Linked DNA regions of Homo sapiens: region 2 is linked to region 1. The links are contacts of gene promoters, found by promoter capture Hi-C in human tissues and cell types (Jung and others, 2019). All regions are on one chromosome and are shown on one strand. The core of a region is centred on a gene start or on the middle of the fragment in contact, and the rest is flanking DNA. Distances in the headings are between cores, read along the strand shown. Region 1 holds the start of CLEC17A (C-type lectin domain containing 17A). Region 2 overlaps ADGRE2 (adhesion G protein-coupled receptor E2).

Region 1 (7,391 bases), core at 164-2,663:
AGATGGAGTTTCACTCTTGTTGCCCAGGCAGGAGTGCAATGATGTGATCTCGGCTCACTGCAACCTCTACCTCCCGAGTTCAAACGATTCTCCTGCCTCAGCCTCCTGAGTAGCTGGGATTACAGGTGCGCGCCACCATATCTGGCTAATTTTGTATTTTTAGTAGAGATGGGATTTCACCATGTTGGCCAAGCTGGTCTTAAACTCCTGACCTCACGTGATCCACCCACCTCGGCCTCCCAAAGTGTTGGGATTACAGGTGTGAGCCACTGCACCCGGCCAGATTATTTTATAGTTCTGGAGTCAGGAGACCAACATCAGTCTCACTGCTGAAACCCAGGTGTTCATGGGCTGGGCCATGCTTCTTTAAGAGGCTGCAGCGTGAGAATCCATTTTCTTGCTGTTTCCAGCCTCTGCAGTTGCATTCTTTAGCATATGGCTCCTTCTTGCATCTTCAAAGCCAGCATAACTTTAGTGACCACATTGCCTTTTTTTTGTGTCAAATCTCCTTCTGTTTCCCTTCTACGAGGACCCTTGTAATGCCATTTTTTTTTTTTTTTGAGACGGAGTCTCGCTCTGTCACCCAGGCTGGAGTGCAGTGGTGCGATCTCGGCTCACTGCAAGCTCCACCTCCTGGGTTCACGCCATTCTCCTCCCTCAGCCTCCCGAGTAGCTGGGACCACAGGCACCCGCCACCACACCCAGCTAATTTTTTGTATTTTTAGTGGAGACGGAGTTTCACTGTGTAAGCCAGGATGGTCTCGATCTCCTGACCTCGTGATCTGCCTGTCTCGGCCTCCCAAAGTGCTGGGATTACAGGCGTGAGCCACGATGCCTGGCCTGTAAAGCCATTTAAGGCCCACCTAGGTAATCCAGGATAAACCATCCATCTCAAGACCCTTAATTAATTAATTAATATTTAATGTTTTTTAAAAAATTAATTTATTTATTTATTGAGACAGAGTCTCACTCTGTCACTCAGGCTGGAGTGCAGTGGCGTGATCTCGGCTAACTGCAACCTCCATCTCCCAGGTTCAAGCGATTCTCCTGCCTCAGCCTCCTGAGTAGCTGGGATTACAGGCGCCTGCCACTGCGCCTGGCTAATTTTTGTATTTTTAGTAGAGACTGGGTTTCACCATGTTGGCCAACCTGGTCTCGAACTCCTGGCCTTAAGTGATCCATCCACCTCAGCCTCTAAAAGTGCTGGGATTCCAGGCGAGAGCCACCACACCAGGCCAGTTGTCATTATTCCTTCTGTGCGTGAATCCAAACTGGGGAGAAAGGCTCTGTGTGTATGTGTGTGTGTGTGTGTGTGTGTGTTTGTGTGAGCACGTGTGAGGTCTGAGGGCTTCCTGTCAAAATGAATTTGCATGTATTTGACTTTGAAAGGAAAAGGGAACTGAGAGAGCCCCCAGACGCCTGAGTCGGAGAGACAGGGGGCAGAGGTTGCCAAGCCCTGGCTGCCACTTGTCAGGTTCCCTGTGCTAGACATGCATAATCTGTATTCCATCACTGGGTACCCGGACCCACCAGGTAAGGCCCCGGCCAGGCTGGGGCTGGGGCCTAGGTGTGGTCAGGACCCAGGGTACAGAATCCCCACCATGGGGCAGCTGAGGCAGAGACCAGGGCTTGAGGGATGGAGGGAGGAGGGAATGGCTGGGCTCTGACTTGCCTTTCCCCTGGAAGGGACCATGGAGGAGGAGGAGGAGGATGATGACTATGAGAACTCAACACCTCCCTACAAGGACCTTCCTCCCAAGCCAGGTAAGAGGACTTTTTGGAGTGTGACCTGGGGGAATACAGGGAATGGGGTCTCCAGTGGGCATTGGTTGGGCATTGTAGACACATAGTCAGTCTCCTCTGTATCCAGCCCATGCCGGGCACTGTGGAACCCACACCCTGCCCAGGACGACCTGTCAGTCTGATGGCGGAGGTGGGTTTGGGCACAGTCTTGGTGAGCAGGGTGAGAGAGGAGGGGTCAGGAGATTGGCAAAATCCTTGGGGGACTGAGGGCTCAAATAGAGGAAGGGACTTTGGGGTGGGGCTTGAGGGATGAGTAGACATATCTTAAGAAGAGAAGTCCAGGAGAGAACAGTTAGGTGCAAAGTCTCTGAGTTACAAAAGCTGGTGCTTGAGAAACTGGGAGTGGACTGTGGGCTCCCAGTCTCCTCACCTTTCTACCCAAAGCCCAGGTTTTATTTAGACTTGGATCTCAAACCCAAGGCATAGCACAGGGTTCAACAAGAGACTGATAAGTGGTTGTTAAAGTGGAGGTTTGGGCCAGCTGCAGTGGTGTGCGTCTGTAGTCTTGATACTTTGGGAGGTCAAGGTGGGAGGATCGCTTGAGGACAGGAATTTGAGACCAGCCAGGGCAACATAGCAAGACCCTATCTCTGCCAAAAAAAAAAAAAAATAGAGGTTTGGGCCGTGTGTGGTGGCACATGTCTGTAGTCCCAGCTACTTGGGAGGCTGAGTCAGTAGGATCACTTGAGCCCAGGAGTTCTGGGCGATTGTGAACTAGGCGATCGGGCGTCTGCACTAAGTTTGGCATCAATATGGTGATGTTTTGGGAGCAGGGGACCACCAGGTTGCCTAAGGTGTCTGAGGAGGGGTTTCCAGGTTGGAAACGGAGCAGTTCGACACCCCCAAGCTGATCAGTAGTGCGACTGCTCCTGTGAGTAGCCGCTGCACTCCAGCTTGGGCAGCATAGCGCGACTCCACTTCTAAAAAAATAGAGAAAATGAAACCGGAGGTTTTTGAGGTATTCCTGAGTTTACTGCCACCAGGGACCCTGAGGCCATGAGAGATCCCGGAGGCCCAAAACAGAAAATCCCTGAGATATGCTGATGGCCTGGTCCTGGTGACCTTAGACAGGAGCCATTCTGTGAGGGCTGAGGCTGTATATCCCCCATCTCTGAGTCCAAAGTGGGGCCACCTGGGAGGTCCAGAAATATGGTGGGACTTGCCTGAGGTAGGAGGTGACCTGTGCTGTGTTGTTTCACTGCCCCATTTCCAATTTATGGTCCTAATGTGACCCTCAAGCCCTGGGTCTACATATATGACCAACCAATCCCATTCCCTTCTTCAGGGCCACGTCTGCTCCAAAAGCACAGTCCTGTCCCCACATCCACATGCAGCCCAGCATCCACTCTCCAATCCAACTTCATCACCCTCTCTACTATAGCCCAGCCTCGACTCCTTCCCCATTCCCAAACCTGGCAAGGACTCTGTTCTTCATCCTAACCACATCATGACCTTACCCACATCCATCCCTGTCCCCAACCCATTTTCCATCCCATCCCACCCCATCCCAACACCAATTCTAATCCAAACCCCACCTCATCTTCATCCCCATCCTGAAACGCAACTGTTTTTGTTTTTTAAAATCCCCTCCATCCCCTTCCATCCCTTCTCCTTTCAATCAAACCCTCAAAGAGACACACAGAGAAGAGAACTGTGAATTGTCTGCTCATTAGTTTTTATGAGAGGAAACCAGAGAATTTAAAAAAAATATTTTTGAGACAGGGTCTTGCTTGTCACCCAGGCTGCCCTGAAGTGGTGCAATCATAGCTCACTGCAGCCTTGAGCTCCTGGGTCCAAGCAATCCTCCTACTACACCCTCCCGAGTAGCTGGGGTTACAGGCATGAGTCACTGTCTGTAAAGCCTCATGTGAAGCTCAGGGTCTACATATATGACTCATATGACTCTCAGGGCCTGTAAGTTCTGCAGAGATGACTGTGGTAGTCAGCCTTCAAGATGGGTTCCCTGTGACCCTTACGTTCTCATATTCGTGCCCTTGTGTAGTCTCTTCCCACAATGACTCAGAGCTGGTCCATGTGATAAATAGAATACTGTATAGTGGAGACCATCCTTTGTGACTTGTGAGGCTAGATCATAGGAGCATGGTGGCTTCTATCTTTGCCTCTGCCATGTTGTGAAGATGCCCAGTCATCCCTTTGGAGAGGCTCACATGGCAAGGAACTGAGGCCTCCCACCAACAGCCATGTGAGTGCATCATCTTGGAAGCAGATCCTCTAGCCCCAGTCAAGCCTGCAGATGACTTGCAGTCCCAGGCAACATCTTGACTACAATCACGCAAGAGATCTCAAGCTAGAACTACCCAGCTAAGCTGCTCTCAGATTCCTGAACCACAGAAACTGTGAGATAATAAATGCTTATGGTTGTTTTAAGTCACTGCGTTTTGGGGTAATTGGTTGTGCAGCCATAGATAACTGACCCAGTGCCCTGGTACTTCACCATGGAATGTGGGGGAATACTTAACACCTATCCCCTTAACATCTTGTTACAAATGTTACCACTTCCAGGAGGTACTTCCTGATGACCTCTCTACATTAGCTTTTATCCTATCCCATTGCTCTGTTTTATTAGGTTTAGAGCAGTAATACTTAGTCTATATAAAAACATATTTTAATGTTTCTTAATTTCTTTACTTTTTTTTTTTTTTTTTCTTGAGACGGAGTTTCACTCTTGCTGCCCAGGCCGGAGTGCAATGGTGCAATCTTGGCTGACAGCAACCTCTGCCTCCCGGGTTCAAGTGATTCTCCTGACTCAGCCTCCCTGGCAGCGGGATTACAGGCATGTGCCACTGTGCCCGGCTAATTTTGTATTTTTAGAAAAGATGGGGTTTCTCCATGTTGGTCAGGCTGGTCTCGAACTCCCGACCTCAGGTGATCTGCCTGCCTTGGCCTCCCAAAGTGCTGAGATTACAGGCACGAGCCACCACGCCCAGCCTCTTTTCTACTTTTTTAAGAGTGGGGTCTCCCTCTGTTGCCCAGGCTGGAGTGTAGTAGTGCAATCATGGCTCACTGCTGTGTCAACCTCCTGAGCTCAAGCAATCCTCCCACCTCAGCCTCCTGATAGCTGGGACTACTGGTGTGCACCACCATGCCTGGATGGTTTTTTCTAAATTTTTTTTACAGAGATAGGGTCTTGCTATGTTGCCCAGGCTGGTCTTGAACTCCTGGCCTCAAGCGATCCTCCTGCCTTGGCCTCCCAAAGTGCTGGGATTATAGGCATGAGCCATTGCGCCCAGCCTATTTCTATGTCTCTTTACTGGTTTATTGTGTCTCTGGTCTAGATTGAAGGAAGAAGTTTATCCATCTCTTCCACCCAGAACTTGGTGCTCTGTAGGGGAGCTCAACTGGGAGCGGGGAGGTGGGTGGCTGTTGTCATTGTTTCTTCTTTTTCTTTCTTTCTTTCTTTTTTTTTTTTTTTGAGACAGAATCTCACTCTGTCACTCAGGCTGGAGTGCAGTGGCATGATCTCAGCTCACTGCAACCTCCACCTCCTGAGTTCAAGTGATTCACCTGCCTCAGCCTCACAAGTAGCTGGGATTACAGGCAGGCACCACCACGCCCGGCTAGTTTTTGTATTTTTGGTAGAGACGGGGTTTCACCACGTTGGTTGCCCAGGCTGATCTCGAACTCCCAAACTCAGGCGACCTGCCAGCCTCAGCCTCCCAAAGTGCTGGGATTACAGACGTGAGCCACCACCCCCGGCCCATTGTTTCTTCTATGTGTGAGTCCAAACTCCAGAGAAAGATGTGTGTGTGTGTGTGTGTGTGTGTGTGTTTGTGTTTGTGTGAGGTCTGGGGGCTTCCCCCCAAGATGGATTTGCCTGTACTTGACTTTGAAAGGAAAGGGAAACAGACAGATGCCTTAGACATCTGAGTAGGAGAGACAAGACCTGGCTACCCCTTGTCATGTTCCTGGTGTTAGCGGTAGCCATGCACAACCTGTATTCTATCTCTGGGTGTCCAGACCCACCAGGTAAGGCCCTGGCCAGGCTGGGGCTGGGGCCCAGGTGTGGTCAAGATCCAGGGTACAGAATCCCCATCATGGGGCAGCTGAGGCAGAGACCAGGGCTTGAGGGATGGAGGGAGGAGGGAATGGCTGGGCTCTGACTTGCCTTTCCCCTGGAAGGGACCATGGAGGAGGAGGAGGAGGATGATGACTATGAGAACTCAACACCTCCCTACAAGGACCTTCCTCCCAAGCCAGGTAAGAGGACTTTTTGGAGTGTGACCTGGGGGAATACAGGGAACGGGGTCTCCAGTGGGCATTGGTTGGGCATTGTAGACACACAGTCAGTCTCCTCTCTACACAGCCCATGCCGGGCACTGTGGAACCCACACCCTGCCCAGGAGGACCTGTCAGTCTGATGGCAGAGGCAGGATTGGGCACAGTCTTGGTGAGCAGGGTGAGAGAGGAGGGGTCAGGAGATTGGCAAAATCCTTGGGGGACTGAGGGCTCAAATAGAGGAAGGGACTTTGGGGTGAGACTTGAGGGATGAGTAGACATTTCTTAAGAAGAGAAGTCCAGGAGAGAACTGTTAGGTGCAAAGTCCCTGAGTTACAAAAGCTGGTGCTTGAGAAACTGGGAGTGGACTGTGGGCTCCCAATCTCCTCACCTTTCTACCCAAAGCCCAGGTTTTATTTAGACTTGGATCACAAACCCAAGGCATGGTACAGGGTCCAACAGGAGACTGATAAGTGGTTGTTAAAGTGGAGGTTTGGGCCAGCTGCAGTGGTGTGCATCTGTAGTCTTGATACTTTGGGAGGCCGAGGTGGGAGGATCGCTTGAGGACAGGAGTTTGAGACCAGCCGGGGCAACATAGCAAGACCCCATCTCTGCCAAAAAAAAAAAAAAAACAAGTAGAGGTTTGGACCGTTTGTGGTGGCACATGTCTGTAGTCCCAGCTACTTGGGAGGCTGAGTCAGGAGGATCGCTTGAGCCCAGGAGTTCTGGGCTATTGTGAAGTATGTGATTGGGCATCTGCACTAAGTTTGGCATCAATATGGTGATGTTTTGGGAGCAGGGACCACCAGGTTGCCTAAGGTGTCTGAGGAGGGGTTTCCAGGTTGGAAACAGAGCCACTCGACACCCCCGAGCTGATCAGTAGTGCGACTGCTCCTGTGAGTAGCCGCTGCACTCCAGCTTGGGCAGCATAGCGCGACCCCACTTCTAAAAAAATAGAGAAAATGAAACCGGAGGTTTTTGAGGTATTCCTGAGTTTACTGCCACCAGGGACCCTGAGGCCATGAGAGATCCTGGGGGCCCAAAACAGAAAATCCCTGAGATATGCTGATGGCCTGGTCCTGGTGACCTTAGACAGGGGCCATTCTATGAGGGCTGAGGCTGTATATCCCCCATCTCTGAGTCCAGAGTGGGGCCACCTGGGAGGTCCAGAAATATGGTGGGACTTGCCTGAGGTAGGAGGTGACCTGTGCTGTGTTGTTTCACTGCCCCATTTCCAATTTATGGTCCTAATGTGACCCTCAAGCCCTGGGTCTACATATATGACCAACCAATCCCATTCCCTTCTTCAGGGCCACGTCTGCTCCAAAAGCACAGTCCTGTCCCCACATCCA
Region 2 (7,381 bases), core at 489-2,988, 170 kb after region 1:
GAGGCTGAAGCAGGTGGATCACTTGAGGTCAGGAGTTTGAGACCAGCCTGGCCAACATGGTGAAACCCCATCTCTACTAAAAAAAAAAAAAAAAAAAAAAAATACAAAAATTAGCTGGGCGTGGTAGCACACACCTGTAGTCCCAGCTATTAGGGAGGCTGAGGCAGGAGAATCGCTCGAACCTGGGAGGCGGAGACTGCAGTGAGCTGAGATCGTGCCACTGCACTCCAGCCTGGCTGACACAGCGAGACTCTGTCTCAATAAAAAAAAGAACACAGGTGTGAGCTGGTGGGTCGGATGCTCAGAAATGCTTACCCAAAGCCGGCTTGGGAAGGACTGACTTTCCTGGGGAGATAATGTACCCATAACAGAGACCCCTGAGCCCCAGGGCTGAGCTGAGCAGCAAGGCTATGCCCGGACTCAGACTATTCACCCACCAACCAACTCCACCAGCACTCACACGGTGGGAGAAGGTGAAGGTAACTGGGGAGCTGAGGTTTTGGGTGTCGTTGTTGCTCAGAAAGGCAGAGATCACATCTGAGAGCAGGATGGGGGAGCCGTCCTGCAGCAAGCCCTGGTGTGTCTCATGCAGAAGCATCTGCTTCTCAGGTTCCAGGACCAGAGGGGCCTCAGCCAGCAACTTGCCCATCCCTGGAATGGAGACAAGGCCCACCACAGAAGGGCCTGCAGGGCGAGGCCAAGGTTGAATCTTGGAGTAGGTTGAATCTCTGGGTCCACACCAGAGTTCCTCTGCCCTGCACAGAACTTTCTACTCAGATGGGCTACCTTCCTTTGGCTTCACCCCTCCCACACTTTCCTTCAATCTTTAGTTCTATGTGTATCACATCCTGCAGGACAAGGCCACGGTTAATATCTCAGGGTCCCCAACAAGGTCCGTTCCTCCTCAGCTGGACTCTCCTCTTACAGCCCCACTCCAAACATCCCACACTTCCCTTTAATCTTTAAATTTCTTATTTTTCACATTCTTGGGCATCTTTTCCCACCATGAAGCTTCACTGACCACCTCCCCATCTCAGCCATTACCTGGGTCACCAGATTTCTGTGCCTGATTCCAGTCGAGCTGCATCACTGCCTGATTCTGTCTCAAGGTGACACTCCTGTCTACTTGCTTCTGCACCTCCAGGGACAATTCTATGAGTTGTGGGAATTACATAAGGGGGGTTAGGTTAGGAATCGTGCCTGCAGTGGTTGATATACTATGACTTAATATATATACTATATACATATATAGTCTGAAGTTACAAAATATCGGAAGAGAATAGTGTGAGCAACTGTATATCTACAAAGTAGGTAACCTAGATGAAATGGACACATTCCTAGTGACACACAAACCACTGAAATCAACTCAAGAAGAAATAGAAGATCTGAACAGACCTATAACAGATTAAATCAGTAATCAAAACCTCTCAAAACTAACAGCCCAGACCAGATGACTTCACTGGTGAGTTCTACCAATAGCTTAAGAAAGAATGAACATGAATCTTTTACCTTTTTAAAAATATGGAAGAGGAGGAAACACTATTTAAGTAATTTTATGAGTCTAATATTGCTCTGATAACAAAACCAGATGAAGACATCACAAGAAAATAAAATTATAGACCAATATTTCTTATGGACATAGATGCAAAAATTTTCAGCAAAAATGTTAGGAATACATTTTACGAAGGAGACTCAAGACTTATAGGAAAGTTTTTTGAGTATTTTTTTTTTTTTGAGACAAATTCTCACCTGTTGGTCAGGCTAGAGTGCAGTGGCATGATCATAGCTCACTGCAGTCTCCTGGGCTCAACCAATCCTTCCACCTCAGCCTCCCAAGTAGCTGGCACTACAGGTGCTCACTACCACAGCCAGCTAATTTTTAAATTTTTTGTGGAGATCATGTTTCAGTATATTTCCAAGGCTGGGCTTGAACTCCTGGGCTCAAGCAATTCTCCCACCTTGGTGGCCTCTGACAATATTGGGCGTGAGCCACTGCTTCTGGCCTACAAAAGTGTTTGAAAGAAATAAAAGGCCCTCTCTAAATGGAAAGACAGCCTATGTTCATGGATTGGAAGACTTTCTATTGTTAAGATAACAATACTCCCCCAAAGTGGTCTAGAGACTCAATGCAATCCCTATCAATATTTTAGCCTATTATTACTTTGCAGAATAAGAAAAGTTCATCTTAAAATTCATATGGTGTTGTAAGGAATCCAAATACCCAAAAACAATCTTGAAGAAGAACAAGAAGGTTGGAGAATTCACACTACCTGATTCCAAAACTTACTACAAACTGACAGTAATACTGGCATAAGGACACAACAGAATAGAATTGAGAGTCCAGGAATAAACCCATCCATCTTATGGTCAGTTGATTCTCAACAAGGGGTGCCAAGACTATACAATGGGGGAAAGAATAATCTCTTCAACAAATAGTGCTGGGATTACTGGATAGTAACATGAAAATAAGGAAGTTTTAACCCTACCCTCACACAACAAACAAAAATTAACTCAAAATAAGCCAGTGACCTAAGCTTAGAAGCTAAAACTAGAACACTTAGGAGGAAACAGGGGTAAATCTTCCTGGTCTTGGATGCGGTAATGAATTCTTTTTTTATTTTTATTTTTGGGACAGAGTCTTGCTCTGTCATCCAGGCTGGAGTGTAGTGGCACAATCTCAGCTCACTGCAACCTCCGTGTCCCAGGTTCAAGCAATTCTCCTGCCTCAGCCTCCTGAGTAGCTAGGATTACAGTCATGTGCCAACACATCTGGTTAATTATTTTTATTTTTATTTTTAGTAAGGACAGGGTTTCGCCTTGTTGGCCAGGCTGGTCTCAAACTCCTGACCTCAGGTGATCCGCCCACATTGGCCTTCCAAAGTGCTGGGATTACAGGCGTGAGCCACCACCCCCTGTCAATGAATTCTTAAATATGACACCAATTGCACATGCAACAAAAGAAAAATTAGATAAAATAAATGTCTTCAAGATTTAAAACTTCTATTCATTAAAGTGAAAAGACAAGAAAATGAAAAGACAATCTACAGAACGGGAGAAAATATTTTGCAAATCATTCATCTCAGATGATCTACTATCAGAATGTTTAAAGAATGCTTACAACTGGACAACCAAAAGACAAACAGCACAATTAAAAATAGGCAAAGGATTTGAATAGACATTTCTCCAAAAATGACATGCAAATGGTGAGCAAACACATGAAAAGATGTTAAACATCATTAGTTATCAGGGAAGGGCAAATCAAAACCACAATGAGGTATCATCTCACTAGTGAAGTGGTGTAAATACCCAAGTTTCACTGTTTCACACCAGGGAAATTGAGGATGTGGACACATAAGAAGTTAGTTTAAGAGTGGAGATTTAATAGGCGAAAGAAAAAAAGAATAGCTCTGGCTGGGCGCAGTGGCTCACGCCTGTAATCCCAGCACTTTGGGAGGCTGAGGCGGGAGGATCACGAGGTCAGGAGATCGAGACCAACCTGGATAACACGGTGAAACCCCGTCTCTACTAAAAATACAAAAAAATTAGCTGGGCATGGTGGTGGGCGCCTGTAGTCCCAGCTACTCCGGAGGCTGAGGCAGGAGAATGGCGTGACCCCGGGAGGCGGAGCTTGCAGTGAGCCGAGATCGCGCCCCTGCACTGCAGTCTGCGGGACACAGCACGACTCCGTCTCAAAAAAAAAAAAAGGAAAAAGAGAATAACTCCCTCTCCTGCAGAGAGACAGGGGCTCCCAAGTGGGTCTTCCGGTTGCGTGGTGAAATGCACGAAGTTTTATAGATGAGCTTGGGTAGGCGGTGTCCGATTTACATAAGGCTTAAAGATTGGTCTGAACAGGTGAGCCATTTACATACAGCATGAAGAAACTGGCTGCCCCAGCCTAATCTTTTATTATGCAAATGGATTCTCTACCTGGCTGGCTCCACGTTGCCTGCTTCTGTACTGTACACGTGGTTGACAAAGATAAAGGAAGAGGGAGCCCCCACGTTGAACATGTCGGGCCCCCAGGTAACCTTTTCCTATTGGCACAGCTGCCGGCATTCACCCGTGCAAGCTTCCAGCTTGCTTTTCTATGTCTGCAGCTCGAATTTTCAGGCTGCTCGTTATTAGAAAAGAAATGATTTGGGGGCTGGTTTTTATTAAAAGGGAAACCTTACTGAGGACTCTCTGACCCTTGCTAACTGCCTAAATAATTTCTTTTTCACTCCTGTATCACTGGGATGAAGAGAGGTGAGTTAACAGGTAGAGACATACAGTTAGACAAAAAGTATAAGTTATACATATATATATATATATTTTTTTTTTTTAGACGGAGTCTCACTCTGTCACCCAGGCTGGAGTGCAGTGGCACGATCTCAGCTCACTGCAGCCTCTGCCTCCTGGGTTCCAGCGAATCTCCTGCCTCAGCTTCCCAGGTAGCTGGGATTACAGGCACGTGTCACTAAGCCCAGCTAATTTTTGTATTTTTAATAGCCAGGGTTTCACCATATTGGCCAGGCTGGGCTCAAACTCCTGATGTCAGGTGATCTGCCTGCCTTGACCTCCCAAAGTGCTAGGATTACGGGTGTGAGCCACCAAGCCAGCCACCTCTCCGCTTATTAAGCAGATTTTTTTTTTTTTTTTTTTTTGAGACGGAGTCTCACTCTGTCACCCAGGCTGGAGTGCAGTGGCACCATCTTGGCTCACTGCAAGCTTCGCCTCCCAGGTTCACGCCATTCTCCTGCCTCAGTCTCCCGAGTAGCTGGGACTACAGGCACCCGCCACCACGCCTGGCTAATTTTTTGTATTTTTAGTAGAGATGGGGTTTCACCCTGTTAGCCAGGATGGTGTCGATCTCCTGACCTCGTGATCCTCCCACCTCGGCCTCCCAAAGTGCTGGGATTACAGGCGTGAGCCACCGTGCCCGGCCCAAGTTCTATTGTTTGACAGCAGAGCAGAGTGACTATAATTAACAAGACTGTATGATGTATTTCAAAGTAGTTACAAAAGAGGACTTCAATTGTTCCCAACACATACAAATGATAAGTACTCAAAGTGGTGGATACCTGAGATACCCTGACTTGATCGTTACACATTCTAGGCAAGCAACAAAGTATCACATGTACCCATAAATATGTAAGATTTATGTATCAATAAAAGCAATTAAAAACAGAACAAAAGAAAACGGAAGTAACAAGTTTTGCTGAAGGTGTGGAGAGGATAACCCGTGTATGTTTCTGGTGGGGAATTAGAATGATGCAGCTGCTTTGGAAAAAGTTTGGTGGTTCCTCCAAAAGCTGAACATAGAATTACCATATCACCCAGCAATTCCACTCCTTAGTATATACCCCAAAGAACTGAAGACAGTTATTCAACCCAAAATGTGTCCACTAATATTCATAAGAGCACTATTCACACCAGCCATCTAAACAAAAAAAAAAAATTCGAAGTCCTCTCCCGCCCCCCTCAAAACCATCTGAATGGACTTCCTTTTTGGCCAGGGCACTCTAAATTTAACTGGAAAGACTAGTTCAGGCTATGGTGGGAAGTGGGGGGTCTGACATGTGTCATGCCCTCCTCCCTTTTGGAGTTGAGGAAAAGCTGACCAGCATTTAACATAACACAGACCTGAAGCTTAATAAGGAACATTTACCATCTATTCTCTCTGAAGCCTGATACCTGAAGAGTTCATCTGGATGATACAACTTCAGCCTTTACAGCCCCTTATCGTATTCCAGACATTCTTTTCTATGGATAATAACTCCTTCAACCAACTGCCAATCAGAAAAGCTTAAATCTACCTATAATCTGGAAGCACCCGCCCCACACCTCCACTTCAAATTGTCCTGCATTTCTGGACTGAACCAATGTATAGCTTAAACATATTTGATTGATGTCTCATGTCCCCCTAAAATGTATAAAACCAAGTTGCGGGGGCAGGCGTGGTGTCTCACGCCTGTAATCCCAGCACTTTGGGAGGCCGAGGCAGGCGGATCACGAGGTCAGGACATCAAGACCATCCTGGTTAACATGGCGAAACCCTGTCTTTACTGAAAACACACAAAATAATTAGCCGGGCGTGGTGGCGGGCGCCTGTAGTCCCAGCTACTTGGGAGGCTGAGGCAGGAGAATCGCTTGAACCCGGGAGGTGGAGTCTACAGTGAGCCAGGATCGCACCACTGCACTCCAGCCTGGTTGACAGAGCAAGACTCTGTCTCCAACAGAAGACAACAACAACAACAATCACAACAAGCTGTACCACGACTACCTTGTGATATAGAAGTTAAAAAGGAATTATTTAGGCAGAGAGTGTGGGTAAGGAAGTCCTGGGTAAGTCTTTCCTTTTAATGAAAATCAGCCCCTATATCATTTTTTTTTTTTCTAACAAAGAGCAGCCTGTAAAATCGAGCTGCAGACATAGGCAAGCAAGCTGGAAGCCTGCACAGGTGAATGCTGGCAGCTGTGCCAATAGGAAAAGGCCACCTGGGACTAGGCATGTTGAAAATGGCGGCTCCATCTTCCCATCTCTTTGCCAACCACGTATACAGTAAGGAGCTGGCGAAGACTCCATTTGCATAATAAGATTAGGGTGGGGCAGCCAGCTTCCCTGCACCTTATGTAAACGTCACACCTGTTCCAACCAATCTTTGGGCCCTATGTAAATTAGACACTGCCTCCTCAAGCCTGTCTATAAAATCCGGTGCCCTCTGGCATGGGTGGGAAGTCCCATTTGGGCATTCCTTTCTCTCACAAGAGAGAGAGTTGTTCTCCTTTCTCTTTCTTTTGCCTATTAAACCTCCACTCATAAACTCACTCCTGGTGTGTGTCTGTGTCCTTAATTTTCTTGGCATGAGGCAATGAACCTCAGGTATTACCCCAGAAAACAACACCACTTCACTTGGGAATATGTTCTCAGGGGCTCCTGAGGGCTGTGTCACGGGCCATGGTCAGTCATACATTCATATTTAGCTCACAATAAATCTCTTCAAATATTTTACAGAGTTTGACTCTTTTTGTCAACAGCCAAAAGGTGGAAACAACCCAAATGTCCATCAATGGATGGATGGATAAAAAAAAAAAAAGTGATGTATTCATACAATAGAATAGTATTCAGCCATGAAAAAGAATGAAATATTGATAAATGCTATGGCATGCATGAACCTCAAAACCATTATGCTAGGTGAAAGGAGCTAGACTAGATGGTCACATATTGTATGATTCCATTTATGTGAGATATCCTGATTAGGAAAATCCATGGAAACAGAAAGCAGATTAGCGGCTGCCATGGGTTGGAGGAAGGGAGGAATGAGGAGTGGTTGCTTACCATGTGCAGTGTTCACTTTTGGGCTGATGCAAGCATTTTAGAAATAGAGGTGACGGTTGTATA

What was found. The method cuts DNA at HindIII sites, captures the fragments that hold promoters and counts their contacts. A contact is called where the count stands out against the background at its distance.
Region 2: a contact is called between a fragment that was not itself captured here and the fragment with the promoter of CLEC17A in region 1, in 1 of the 25 tissues and cell types used here (spleen).

Annotation. Positions count from the first base shown.
Region 1 is chr19:14,581,671-14,589,061 of GRCh38, forward strand. CLEC17A (C-type lectin domain containing 17A) reads left to right here and starts at 1,414. Exons shown (of 14, transcript NM_001204118.2): 1 at 1,414-1,533; 2 at 1,687-1,764; 3 at 5,944-6,021. The coding sequence starts at 1,491. It also overlaps the pseudogene RN7SL337P and the pseudogene RN7SL842P. RefSeq lists a silencer at 1,044-1,187 and enhancers at 1,529-1,698, 3,838-3,887, 5,563-5,652. The HindIII fragment of the contact is 21,633 bases long and covers 1-7,391 here.
Region 2 is chr19:14,755,194-14,762,574 of GRCh38, forward strand. It overlaps ADGRE2 (adhesion G protein-coupled receptor E2), which reads right to left. Exons shown (of 21, transcript NM_013447.4): 12 at 1,045-1,152; 13 at 461-684. Among named protein-coding and RNA genes, the nearest start is that of ADGRE2, 20 kb to the right of the region's middle. RefSeq lists enhancers at 3,520-4,043, 4,044-4,569. The HindIII fragment of the contact is 3,126 bases long and covers 176-3,301 here.